Linked DNA regions of Homo sapiens: region 1 is linked to region 2. The links are contacts of gene promoters, found by promoter capture Hi-C in blood cells and fetal thymus (Javierre and others, 2016). All regions are on one chromosome and are shown on one strand. The core of a region is centred on a gene start or on the middle of the fragment in contact, and the rest is flanking DNA. Distances in the headings are between cores, read along the strand shown. Region 1 overlaps KIAA1549. Region 2 holds the start of IFT56 (intraflagellar transport 56).

What was found. Contacts are between HindIII fragments. The CHiCAGO score rates a contact against its expected background, and 5 or more counts as called.
Region 1: a contact is called between a fragment that was not itself captured here and the fragment with the promoter of IFT56 in region 2, in 1 of 17 cell types (naive CD4 T cells). The highest score is 5.4, in naive CD4 T cells.

The regions. Positions count from the first base shown.
Region 1 is chr7:138,904,191-138,909,785 of GRCh38, reverse strand. It overlaps KIAA1549, which reads left to right. Exons shown (of 20, transcript NM_001164665.2): 5 at 665-795; 6 at 2,684-2,867; 7 at 4,705-4,764. Among named protein-coding and RNA genes, the nearest start is that of KIAA1549, 74 kb to the left of the region's middle. The HindIII fragment of the contact is 1,215 bases long and covers 1,419-2,633 here.
Region 2 is chr7:139,131,717-139,137,765 of GRCh38, reverse strand. IFT56 (intraflagellar transport 56) reads right to left here and starts at 3,988. Exons shown (of 18, transcript NM_024926.4): 1 at 3,906-3,988; 2 at 2,974-3,111. The coding sequence starts at 3,908. RefSeq lists enhancers at 3,972-4,151, 3,869-4,163. The HindIII fragment of the contact is 9,761 bases long and covers 1-4,333 here.

The sequences.
Region 1 (5,595 bases), core at 777-3,276, 230 kb after region 2:
TAGTAGAGATGGGGTTTCACCATGTTGGCCAGGCTGGTTTCGAACTCCTGATCTCAAATGATCTGCCCGCCTCAGCCTCCCAAAGTGCTGGAATTACAGGCGTGAGCCGCTGTACCTGGCTGTTAACAGTAATTTCTAAATATCATATTTAACTTTTCATTGTGGACATGTTCAAACATTTACAAAAGTAGAGAGAGTACTAAGTCTACATATACCCATGGTTAAGCTTAAAAAAAATTTATCAACATCACCAATTTTGTTTCATCTATCCCCTGTGAACGTTTTTGTGGACACTAGAGTGTTTTCAAGCAATGCCAGGTATCATGTCATTTCACCCATAAATATTCAAGAATTCATCTACAATGAATTTATATATGTTTGAAATGTTTCCATCCATTGTGTCTTTTGATACTCAAATTCTTATCTTAGATATTTTTCATTTTAAAATGATACCAGTCACCGTCACATTGCATGTCTTCATTTACTGCAAAGTTACCTTTTACATTTCCGTGAGAAAATACGTAGAAATGTTACATCACAGTACTTAATCCCATACTATGGATGAATTGGTTGATTTAGATACGATGTTTCTCTCTCTTGATTCCTTAATACTTCAGAAGCACAAACACCTCATTTATGGGACTTTGATTGCTTTTCTTTTCAGTACTTCAGTTTGTGCCTCCGAGTGTGGATACTGGCTTCTGCAACTTCACCCAGCGCATTGAGAAAGGCCTAATGACAGCTCTCTTTGAAGTGAGAAAACACCACCAGGGAACGTATAACCTCACGGTGCAGGTGAGAATATCACTGAATGCAGAGCAGAAGGCTTTAGCCCTTGAAGGGGAAATTGTTCCACATTGTTTAAGATGTGCTTAACTCTTATTCCCTCCAGTGGCGGAAACCCAGTTTATGTGAGTCGGGATTGATCTATTCCTGTGGCGTAAGGTCGGCATAGCGTGCACAGGCTGAGCATCTTTGAGGGTTGCAGAGTAGCTGATACCCAGGGAGCTCAGATATGGTGAGCTGAAGAAACATGACCATATTCAGGAAATTCAAGAATTACCTAGAAAGGAATGGTATCAACCTAAATATCCAATGGGGGAATGCCTACCCATACTGTTGTTTCCATATAGCTACTAAGAACGGGTGTTGTACGTATCATATGGAAACTGCTGATGTTTTTATGTTTCTTTGATTTTTTTCCCTCTACATTCTTTCCTCTCTCTTTCCAAAATGGATGTTAAAATAGATTTTGGTGCTCCTGGATCCACTTTCCATGTTTCTTATTTTTTCCTCATATTTTCCATCTCTTTATTCTCTGTTTTTACAGATTTACTAAATGTCGTCCTCCAAGTCATGAATTTAGTCCTTAGCTGTGTCCATTATGTTATGCAATCCCTCTACTGAATTTTTAAGCTTTTTGTTCATTGTTCTTTGCTCCATTTTCATTGTAGGCTTTCCTGCGATGATGCAGTGTCACCTTAAAAGTCTCTGAGGACGTTAATTAGAATTGTTAAAATGCGTCTTCTGTTTCCTAAGTCATTCCTGTTTTCTCTGCAGTCCTTGCTCTGCATGTTGATCTCGGTGCTTTGCTTTCGTGCTGTTAGTTTCTGTAAATCTGGAGACTGTTGGTTTGTTGTTAGGAATGAAGAACCAAGTTGTTCATTTTAGTAGCTGGCACAGCTTTCCCCTTGAGCTGTGGGGATCTCTTTCTACGTCAGCTCCATCTCCTGGTGGGAAAATTCGTCGGAGCGCTGGGTCTGGGGCAGAATATGTCAGCGTGGGCTTCTCTCTGGGTGCAGTGTGTGGTCAGAGACAAGCAGACAGGGAACACCCTCCTTCCAGCATCTAGATAAAGAGGTTCTTCCTAGGGGATGGGGCACTTTAGTGTGTGTCTCAGGGCAGAGCTAGCTGCGTTTTCATTCATTTTCTTTCCTTCTTCGGTGTGCACAGGAGTTATCTTAGCCTCTGCCCACCTTCTTGGTTAGGGCCCAGACCCACCATAGTCCTCTTAGGCAGGAGTTTGTTTTCCTCAGGAGGCAGTCTTGTTCTGGGTGAGGGCCTGGCTGCTGCTAGCACCTCTGTTGGCCTGGGTGTGGCAGTTAGGAAGGACGGAGGAGGAAGGCAATACACTCAGCTCTTTGGCACAGCCTTGTAATTAATTATACTGATTACCACTGTGTAGCCTGCTCTTGGTCTCATTCCTGCTGATCTCTGCCACAGAGCCCCTCCTGGTCCTCTTGGAGAGCGTGGCCCTTGGCTCTGCTGCAGCCCATGCTTGTGTATGTTTTGGATTCTGGCTTTCTCTGTTCTGGTTTATATCAATCCAATCCCATCCTTTCTTCATCCCCCAGAGGTTTGACGGAATCTCTAGTTTTCTTCCATTCTCAGTGCTGTTGTGGATTTATTCCCCTGTGTTCAGCTTATTGTTATTTCAGTGGCATTTGGGGTGGGAGGAGCTGTACATGTGCTCAGTTCATCACTTAATGTAAGAAACATTTTCCATAAACTGAGCAGTTAAACTCTTACAAAAGGGAACCAGGTTAGAAAGCCAGTTACGTTTCCTTTAAAAACTTTACCTCCTTTAAAAAAATCGGTGAGAGGACCTGTGAGAGAGAAATCATGGTTAAGCTTTCAGCAGAATGTTTTATTATAGAAGCTTATTCTGACTTTATTCTTTCAGATCTTGAATATCACCATCAGTTCCTCAAGGGTGACTCCTCGGCGGGGCCCGGTGAATATCATCTTTGCGGTTAAAAGCACACAGGGATTTTTGAATGGGTCGGAAGTGAGCGAGCTGCTCAGAAACTTGAGTGTGGTGGAGTTCAGTTTCTATCTGGGATACCCAGTGCTGCAGATCGCAGAGCGTGAGTACAGCCCTCTTGGACATGCTGGGGAGGTGATGGCGGGCATTTTTGGTGGAAGACCTCTTCTTAAAATTTTTTTAGTTTTTTAAAAGACTTGATTTTTTAAAAATTATTTTTCCATAAGGCGTTGGGGTACAGGTGGTATTTGGTTGCACGAGTAAGTTATTTAGTGGTGATTTTTGAGATCCTGGTGCACCCATCACCCGAGCAGTATACACTGCTCCACATTTGTAGTCTTTTATCCCTCCTCCCGCCACTCTTCCCCCCAAGTCTCCAAAGTCCATTGTATCATTCTTATGCCTTTGTGTCCTCATAGCTTAGCTCCCACATATCAGTGAGAACATACGATGTTTGGTTTTCCATTCCTGAATTATTTCACTTAGAATAATAGTAAAAGACTTGAGTTTTTTTAGTGAAGTTTTTGGATTCACAGCAGATATGATCGGAGAGTTCACAGATTTCCCATATACCTCCTGCTTCCGCACATTCATAACCTCCATTATCAGCATCCCCCAGCACAGTGGCCCATTTGTTACAGTGATCAACCTGCATTGGTTGATCCTGCATCATTGGTTGAACCTGCATCATCATCCATAGCCCATAGTTTACATTAAGGTTCACCCTGGGTGTCGTGCATTCTGTGGGTTTGAACAAATGTGTAATGACATGCAAATGGCATGGATTCTCCATTTTAGTATCATACAGAGTATTTTCACCTGGACCACTTTTTTCAAATGAAATATCTGATTTGAGTGCCAGAATATAAATCTGATAAAACTGGATTCAGGCCAGATGGGTCTGCAGAGCCCTGCTCACCCACCGTGCCTGACTTTATTATTTGGAGAGTAAAGGGGTGCTATCAAAAAGTACACGAATTCTGGAAAAGGCATAATTTAGGGAGGACGAATCTGTGGTTGTCAGAGCTTAAGGGCCGCAGGAAAGTTTGACTACAAAAGGGTAGCAGAAGGCAGTGTTTTGGGGGTTGTGAAACTGTTCTATATCTTCATTGTGGTGATGATTATGTGAATATATACACATTTATCAAAACCCATAAAACTGTATACTGAAAAGAGTGACATTTACTGTGTAAATTTTAAAATAAAAACAATAAGTGAAAACATGAAACCTTTCTTCCTGACTGAAGCAACTAGCTTCACAATGCCAATGGAGGCAGTGGGGGAAAGGGGAGACGTTTATTTAAAAAAAAAAAATAGTAGATTCCAGAGTTGAAATCAGGCCAAAAAATTCCAATTCTTTTTCAAAATGAAACAACCAAATGGCCTAATGATTCGTAGTGTATTTTAGTGTATTGTTAATTAAACTAAAAAGAATAACTTTACAGAAGTTATTCTATATGAAAGTAGACAGAGATAAAGCTGTTATTTACAAAGAGCCGCTTTCAGTTGTGCTCAGTGTGTGTATGGCTAAAATGAGGATGCCGGACGGCGGGGCACACTGGCTGGTCCTGGGCAGGTCAACGCATGTGGTCACTTTACCCTGAGACCTTGCTGGGAAAGCCAGGGCTCTGAGGGGCACGGTGTGAACATGGATTGCTGTGGAACAGTGACATTCAAAGGAGAACTTGCCGGTGACCTCTCTGTGAAGCAGTGTCCTGTGACATAGCTGGAGCGGCCCTTCTTTTCTTTTTATCTCTCTCTTTTTCCTTGAGACTAATGTGTTCAGAAATGGCTACTGTCCACGTCCTCACGCTAATCTGACATTTTGTTCTTTCACATTTAGAGCTAAATAGTAAAGACGATGTGTTGGGACTTTGTTGTAAACATGGCTTTGTTTTTACAGATATTTTTCTCCTTCCCTAATTCTTTCCCTTTTGTAGCCTTCCAGTATCCACAGCTCAACTTATCTCAGTTGCTGAAGTCCTCTTGGGTCAGAACAGGTATGTTTAACTTATGTAATATTTTGGGAACTGTAAGGAGAAGAAGTCTATGCAGGCGTATTGAGAATGATGCTGCCTTTCTTGTTTCCTAAATTTAGGGCAAAATGTACCTTACATTCTTGGCAAAGAATGAATGGAAAGGGATTCAAATTTGGCTGTGGGAATATATCCCACTGAGTTATAGAACAAAAAGGACTGACTTTCTTTAAAATTCATACATCAAGTTCAGGGCAGAGTCTAACAGGAACTGACAATCTTCTGACCCAGAATAGGGTGAGGTTTAGAAGCAAGGATCTCTCTCTTGTTTTATTTTTTTTTTTCTAAAAGTGTTATTTGTTTAGTTTAATAAGGACAAGCAGGGTGGCTTGGCACCTGGGAAGCTTTTTTTTTTTTTTTTTTTGTCTTAGGGGAGTGGGTCAGATATTTAGAGGTATGGCATTGCAGTTGAAGGCCTTTCTAACCTAGTGCACAAAAGTCTGAACAGTACTTACGTACTCACCAGCTGTCCAGTGTGCATGCAGCACAGGAACTAGCTGGGCACGAGAGAGCATGTGGGGTAGTGATAGTTGCCATTCACGGGGTTCCTGCATCTTGCAAGTTCTCCTTGCCGAACACACAGCATCCCACGTCAAGGTCCTATCGCTTTGCATGGTGCCATCCGCGGTCTTTTCCAGATAATTTCTATAGCAATTAAGTAACTTGCCCATGGTTGTATCTCAAAGAAAACTTAAACCAGTTCTGGTTGAAAAGCACATGCTCCTTCCTCCCAGACCACACTGGCAAGTGATTGTCTGTTGAGATCATCTTGTCTGAAATAGATAACTAAAGATG
Region 2 (6,049 bases), core at 2,739-5,238:
TACTGACAACAGGCAATCTAAGTATTAGAAGCATGACAATATGAGGTTTAATTAAACCTATACCTACAGGACAAGTATCTTCTAATTGTCACAGAAATTTATATTTTCAAGTATTTCATATTTGGCTTTCTGTATTTACTGATATTATACTCCAGAAAGTATTTGAGTTGCCTAACAATTCTGGGTGATATATAAGGAAGAGAATTATGTAAAATATTTAGAGCCAAATAACTGAAGGTTAGAGAGGCTGAACCATGAACTCAAGGCCACACGGCCAGTATGTGTGCTGGCAGGGACTTAAAGAAATGCCTGACTCCAAAGCCCGTGTTGTCACCCTCCGTGCTCTACTGCATTTAACTTCCCACTTGAGTCCTGTTGCATTAACACACGCATATATTTACTAATAGGTTGTAACCTTTCACTGAGAATCTTTCTATTACCCTTGAGCAGGCTAGCTTACCAGGCCTACAAGAGTTAAGGATGTTCAGAAGACTTGGCCTCACTTATGTCCATTGTGAACAAATATTTATGAATTCCTCAGCCAACAAAAGAAAAGCCTTATTTTGGAGGAAAAGACTGAGACCTTGACAGAGAATTCTGAATTTCCGTGGTAAGATAAGATTTTTTTTTTCACTCTACAGGGTGATAAATCAAATAGTGAGCCAACACATATTTATGGAGCATCACTATAGAATTTCAGGTGCCTCAGTCATTACAAGATGAAGACATCCCTTTGATATTTTCTTGTCTGGGCTAAGAATTTACTCCTGTAGCTAACTCTACAACATTAGAAATCCTCCTCATACCAAATGCTATGAATTTGAGTATCATGCCTTAATTCTAGAGAAATTCTCATGTGAGGTCTCCCTGAATTCCCTGGAGCTACAGGAAAGCACATGAGACTTCCTTCCCCAAACCATAGCAGTTTCCATTCCCATGCAGCAGGGTACTCCAACTAACAACCTAAGAATGTGAGCAAAGAGCAGAGCCTCCCTGCCAACTTAAAGGCAGTCTGGCCCTGTAATCCCAGCATTTTGGGAGGCCAGAAGCAGGAGGATCCCTTGAGCCCAGGAGTTCAAGACCAGCCTGGGCAACATGGTGAGACCCCTGTCTCCACACACACACACAAATAGCCAATCAAACGAAAATTAGCCAGGTATAGTGGCACGTGCCTGTAGTCTCAGCTACTTGGGAGGCTGAGGTGGGAGACTCGTGTGAGCCCTGGGAGGTTGAGGCTGCAGTGAGCCACCATCACGCCACTGCATTCCAGGCTGGGTGACAGAATGAGACCCTGTCTCAAAAATAAAATAAAATAAAGGCAACCTGGTGTTATGCAACAAGGAAAATGTGGTCATTGTCTTAGAGAAAAAAGAGGAAAACAGACTGATGAAAATAGATATATACATAGCACTCAGTCCACTGATTCACAGAACTAGAAGGTTCTTCCATGCCAACTCCCCCACTGTAAAGATGAGAAAGCTGATGCCCAAAAAGCTAAAAAACACGCTCAACACCAGAGTACTTAGTAAGAAGGCAAACTAGGCCGGGCGCGGTGGCCCACACCTGTAATCCCAGCACTTTGGGAGGCCGAGGCAGGTGGATCACCTGAGGCCAGGAGTTGGAGACCAGCCTGGCCAACATGGTGAAACCCCATCTCTACTAAAAATACAAAATATTAGCCAGGTATGGTGGCAGGCACTTCTAATCCCAGCTACTCAGGAGGCTGAGGCAGGAGAATTGCTTGAACCAGGGAGGTGCAGGTTGCAGTGAGCTGAGATTGCGCCATTGCACTCTAGCCTGGGTGACAAGAGTGAAACTCCAACTCAAAAAAAGAAAAAAGAAAAAAAAAAGAAAGTGAACTATTTGTGGAAGATGGAGAAATATATGTAAACCTAATTATAACAATTATTAAGGGTAGATTCAGAGTAATATGGACAGAGTAGCATTTTAAGAGAAATGAGTGTGGTACAACACAACCAGACCATGCTGTCAGAACTCTTCATTCTTTGGTGCAACCCTTCACCCTCCTATAACATGTGTTTCCCACAAAGCAGTTTTTTAAAGCACAGTCTCCTGGGACCATCTCCATCAGAAGCACTTAGACTACTCACCTTAAAATGCAGATTCCTGAGCACCTCTGCAGACTTACAGCAGGAGCCCAGGAATCGATATCTTATTAAGTACCCTAGGTAATTCCAATGTATATTAAAAGGTGAGAACTACTGCCATGGAGATTTGAAATATTTTCTGGGGCTATATTTTCAACCGTAAGCATGTTAGAATTATTTAAGTTTGATCAAAATTTTAGAACACATAATAGGAAAAAATCATACATTGGTCAAGGGTTGGGATAAGCAATGTGTGAAATGACATTGTATAAAAGGTCCCTTCATATTTTTAGATTGTAATCACTGTTGGTGAACTAGACATACTCAAAAGTGGCCCTCAAGAAATAAGTTTTGTTTTGTTTTTTTTTTTTTTTTTTTTTGAGACGGAGTCTCGCCTTGTAGCCAGGCTGGAGTGCAGTGGCATGATCTTGGCTCACTGCAACCTCCGCCTCCCGGGTTCAAGCGATTCTCCAGCCTCAGCCTCCCGAGTAGCTGGGACTACAGACACGTGCCACCATGCCCAGCTAATTTTTGTATTTTCAATAGAGACGGGGTTTCACCATGTTGGCCAGGATGGTCTCGATCTCTTGACCTTGTGATCTGCCCGTCTCGGCCTCCCGAAGTGCTGGAATTACAGGCATGAGCCACCGCGCCCGGCCAAGTTTAGTTTTTTAGTTCGTTTTTTATCAGGTTTATAGCTAACTTGGAATCTGGAATCTGTGCCTGACTAGATTTACAGGGGATTTGTACAGGAAGCCCCAGAATGCACCCACCTATTTCAAGAGCATAGCAAACAGCATTCACCCAAGCATTCATCTACAGTCTGGTATTCATACACTAAGAAGCAACGTTCTTTGGGCATTACCTCCAACAGGGTAATAGCTCCAGTGAAATCTCTTTTTGAAAGTAGCTCCTCTAGTTTTGGAATCTTCCTACCTTTCTTCTTTCTTTTGTCAGTGTGCTGTACGCCTCTGCCTACAGCAGGTTTGGCCCTTGAAAGCATCTGTAAAAGAAACAAAGACAGCTGTATGGTCCAATTCTGATTATCAGATTTAAACTGAGAGTGACAGCTCTGTAATTTATAAGTCAAGGCCGGGCACAGTGGCTCATGCCTGTAATCCCAGCACTTTGAGAGGCGAAGGCGGCGGATCACGAGGTCAGGAGTTGGAGACCAGCCTGGTCAATATGGTGACACCGCATCTCTACTAAAAATACAAAAATTAGCCGGGCGTGGTGGCATGCGCCTGTAGTCCCAGCTACTCGGGAGGCTGAGGCAGAAGAAACGCTTGAACCTAGAGGCAGAGGTTGCAGTGAGCCAAGATCGCGCCACTGCACTCCAACCTGGGCGACAAAGCGAGCCTCCATCTCAAAAAAAAAAAAAAAATTATAAGTCAAATCCTTAACAACGAACCCCAGGGAAGCCTATTCAAACTCGTTTTGTAACAGGTATTCTACTAGAAGAGCCATCAGCCAATACTTAGGAAGGACCAAACAGCTACTCCCAACTTTTATCTTCTCTGGCTAGAGATGCTTTCGCATTGCTTCTGTCATCTCAGCTTTCCCTTCCTCTGCTTCCCATCCCACGAGTGGTTTAAATGTGAGTAAACGGAAAAGCAGGAGGGAAGAAAGCACCGAGGTATTTACAGTTGCATCCCTGTCCCCCGTGGGAACACAGGGAGAGCTGGGGATTACTCTCTGCGGACACACCTAGACTTCACACAGAAGTGTGCTGGGAACCTCTAATCGCCAGCCTCAGGACCTACTCAAAGTACTCCCTTACTATTCAGAGCCACTAACCATCTTGACGTCGGTCTTGTGAGTCCCCACCACACAGCGAAGGCCGCGCCTCAGCGTTTCGCCGCATCCACACAGCACGTTCTGTCTCCACGGTAACCCCGCCTGGACGCTGGTACGAACGGGAGAAAAGCTCGTTGGAGAACCAGCGCCCGCGGCTTCTTGGTTCCGTGCAGCTTCTGCCGCGGAAGAGCCGAGGTTCCTCTTGGGAGGAGAGCGTCGTTCTCTGGGCTGAGAGCGAAAGTTTGGTTGTCTCTATTTATGAGTTTACTTTAGGAAAAGGCGAATTGGAATGGCATTGTTTTTCAAATGCAAGTTTTCTGGGAAAGAAATTTTCAGGGACCACTTCTGTTTGGGGCCGTGTTGGACTCCATAGCAACCCTTGACTATGTGCACCGCAGAATCTTGGTCTCTGGCTGGTGCGGGAAGCTTAGAAAATTTCTGCTGAAGGAGTTGTAGTTCTGTGATTTGGAAGCAGGAGTGCACCAAAATACAGTTTCCTATTTCCACAGATACACCTACACACAATAGAGAACTGTAATAAATATTTGTCGATTGGATGACTTAATTTATCTATCTTACTCCTGAACCCAGTTAATACAGGGGCAACCACAGTCTTTAAATTCACGAAATCGTGGAATGTTAGAGTTGGAAGGGACCTTACAGGACCTCTGGTCAACCCCTCAGAATTAACAGACTGAAGAACTAACATCTTGTTAGTTAACTAATGTCAGCCTAAAATAACCAAAAAGCTCAGGGATCCAGTTGAAAGAGTTTATTCAAGTGCAAAGTGTGAGGGCGGCTATCCCGGGAACCACTGACAGCAAAGAATGGTGATCAGTGCTCCCTGATGCAGGGAAAGGTGAGGGTCATTTATATCACCAAAAACAGGAGTGCTGTACGTAATTACAGCATTTTCTAGATGAGGCTAACGTACACAGAAGATTCAATTCACTACTATTGATTACACTGTAAGGGGGTTGTTTAATATTCTATTGTAAAGAGGTAACAATCACAAGGGTCTCTATCTCCAACGTCATTTAGTCTGAATAAAGAATAAAAAATCTGGTTAATATATAACATCAACACAAAGATCAGGAAGCAACAGTCATGCACCAGAGAAGAAAAACAGCCATGTTCTGTGATTTAGTTTACAGGGCTTAACTTTTCCCCTTGGCATAGTACGTTTGGAAAGTGCTGAAATTTTCTTTTCACATTTTCCCCTTTTCTTCAAAAGCTTTCAGAGAAAGCATTATAGAAGAATTATATTCTCAGGCCGTGTATTTGATCAAACCTCATGTCACTAGGAAGGCCCCTTCCTGGCAGTCACATCCCAGGGAGGAGGGGAAATTGGAAAGGACCAAGTCCGAATTATAAAGCAACAAGAGAAAGTAGTTCTGGAACCTGATTCAGGCTACACGGCTGCCTCTTCAATCAAACAATTCTCTGAGTAGTCTTTGTTCTACACATTTTCTCAGCTGTGTGTTGACCCAATTGCAGATAAATACCATAACAGCTCTGCAGACAAAGGCAAGACAAAACACAAACTATGATAATTCCTAAAATACATAACAGCTTTTGCCACCAAGTTCCCCAAGATCCAAATCAATTACTTAACCAGTAGCTTAGAGAGGGTTTTGGATCCGAAAGGTTAATTATTAGAGTTTTTCAAATCAGTTATTAATTTGGTGACGTTATTTGATTCATCTGGGATATAAACACAGCATTCAGTTTCTGTCATAGCACAGATTCCTCCTTGGGCTGCAGTGAGTATGTCTAAGACCATACAGTTTTGTAATACAGTCTTCTCATGACAGTAACTTCATTATTTAATAATGAGACATTCATGTGGCTGTTATTTAGGGCCTTTTGTGTGTAATTGGTTAGGGCCTGTACATGGCAAATGACATCTTCAATACACAGTTGTGGTACAAAGACAGAAGTGAATCTAAGTGGCTTCTGGAAGGTAAGCACTTTCTATTTCTTCTGTTAAAGACACTATTGCGTAAACCTTTACAGTAAGTTCCAGATTCATCCTTTAAATAACATGCGTCTGTAAACCAAACAACATTAGCCTAAGTAAGAAAAGTCTCTTGCAGATCAGTCCTAGGAGAAAACAAGTTTATCAGTTAGAGTTATGCAATTGT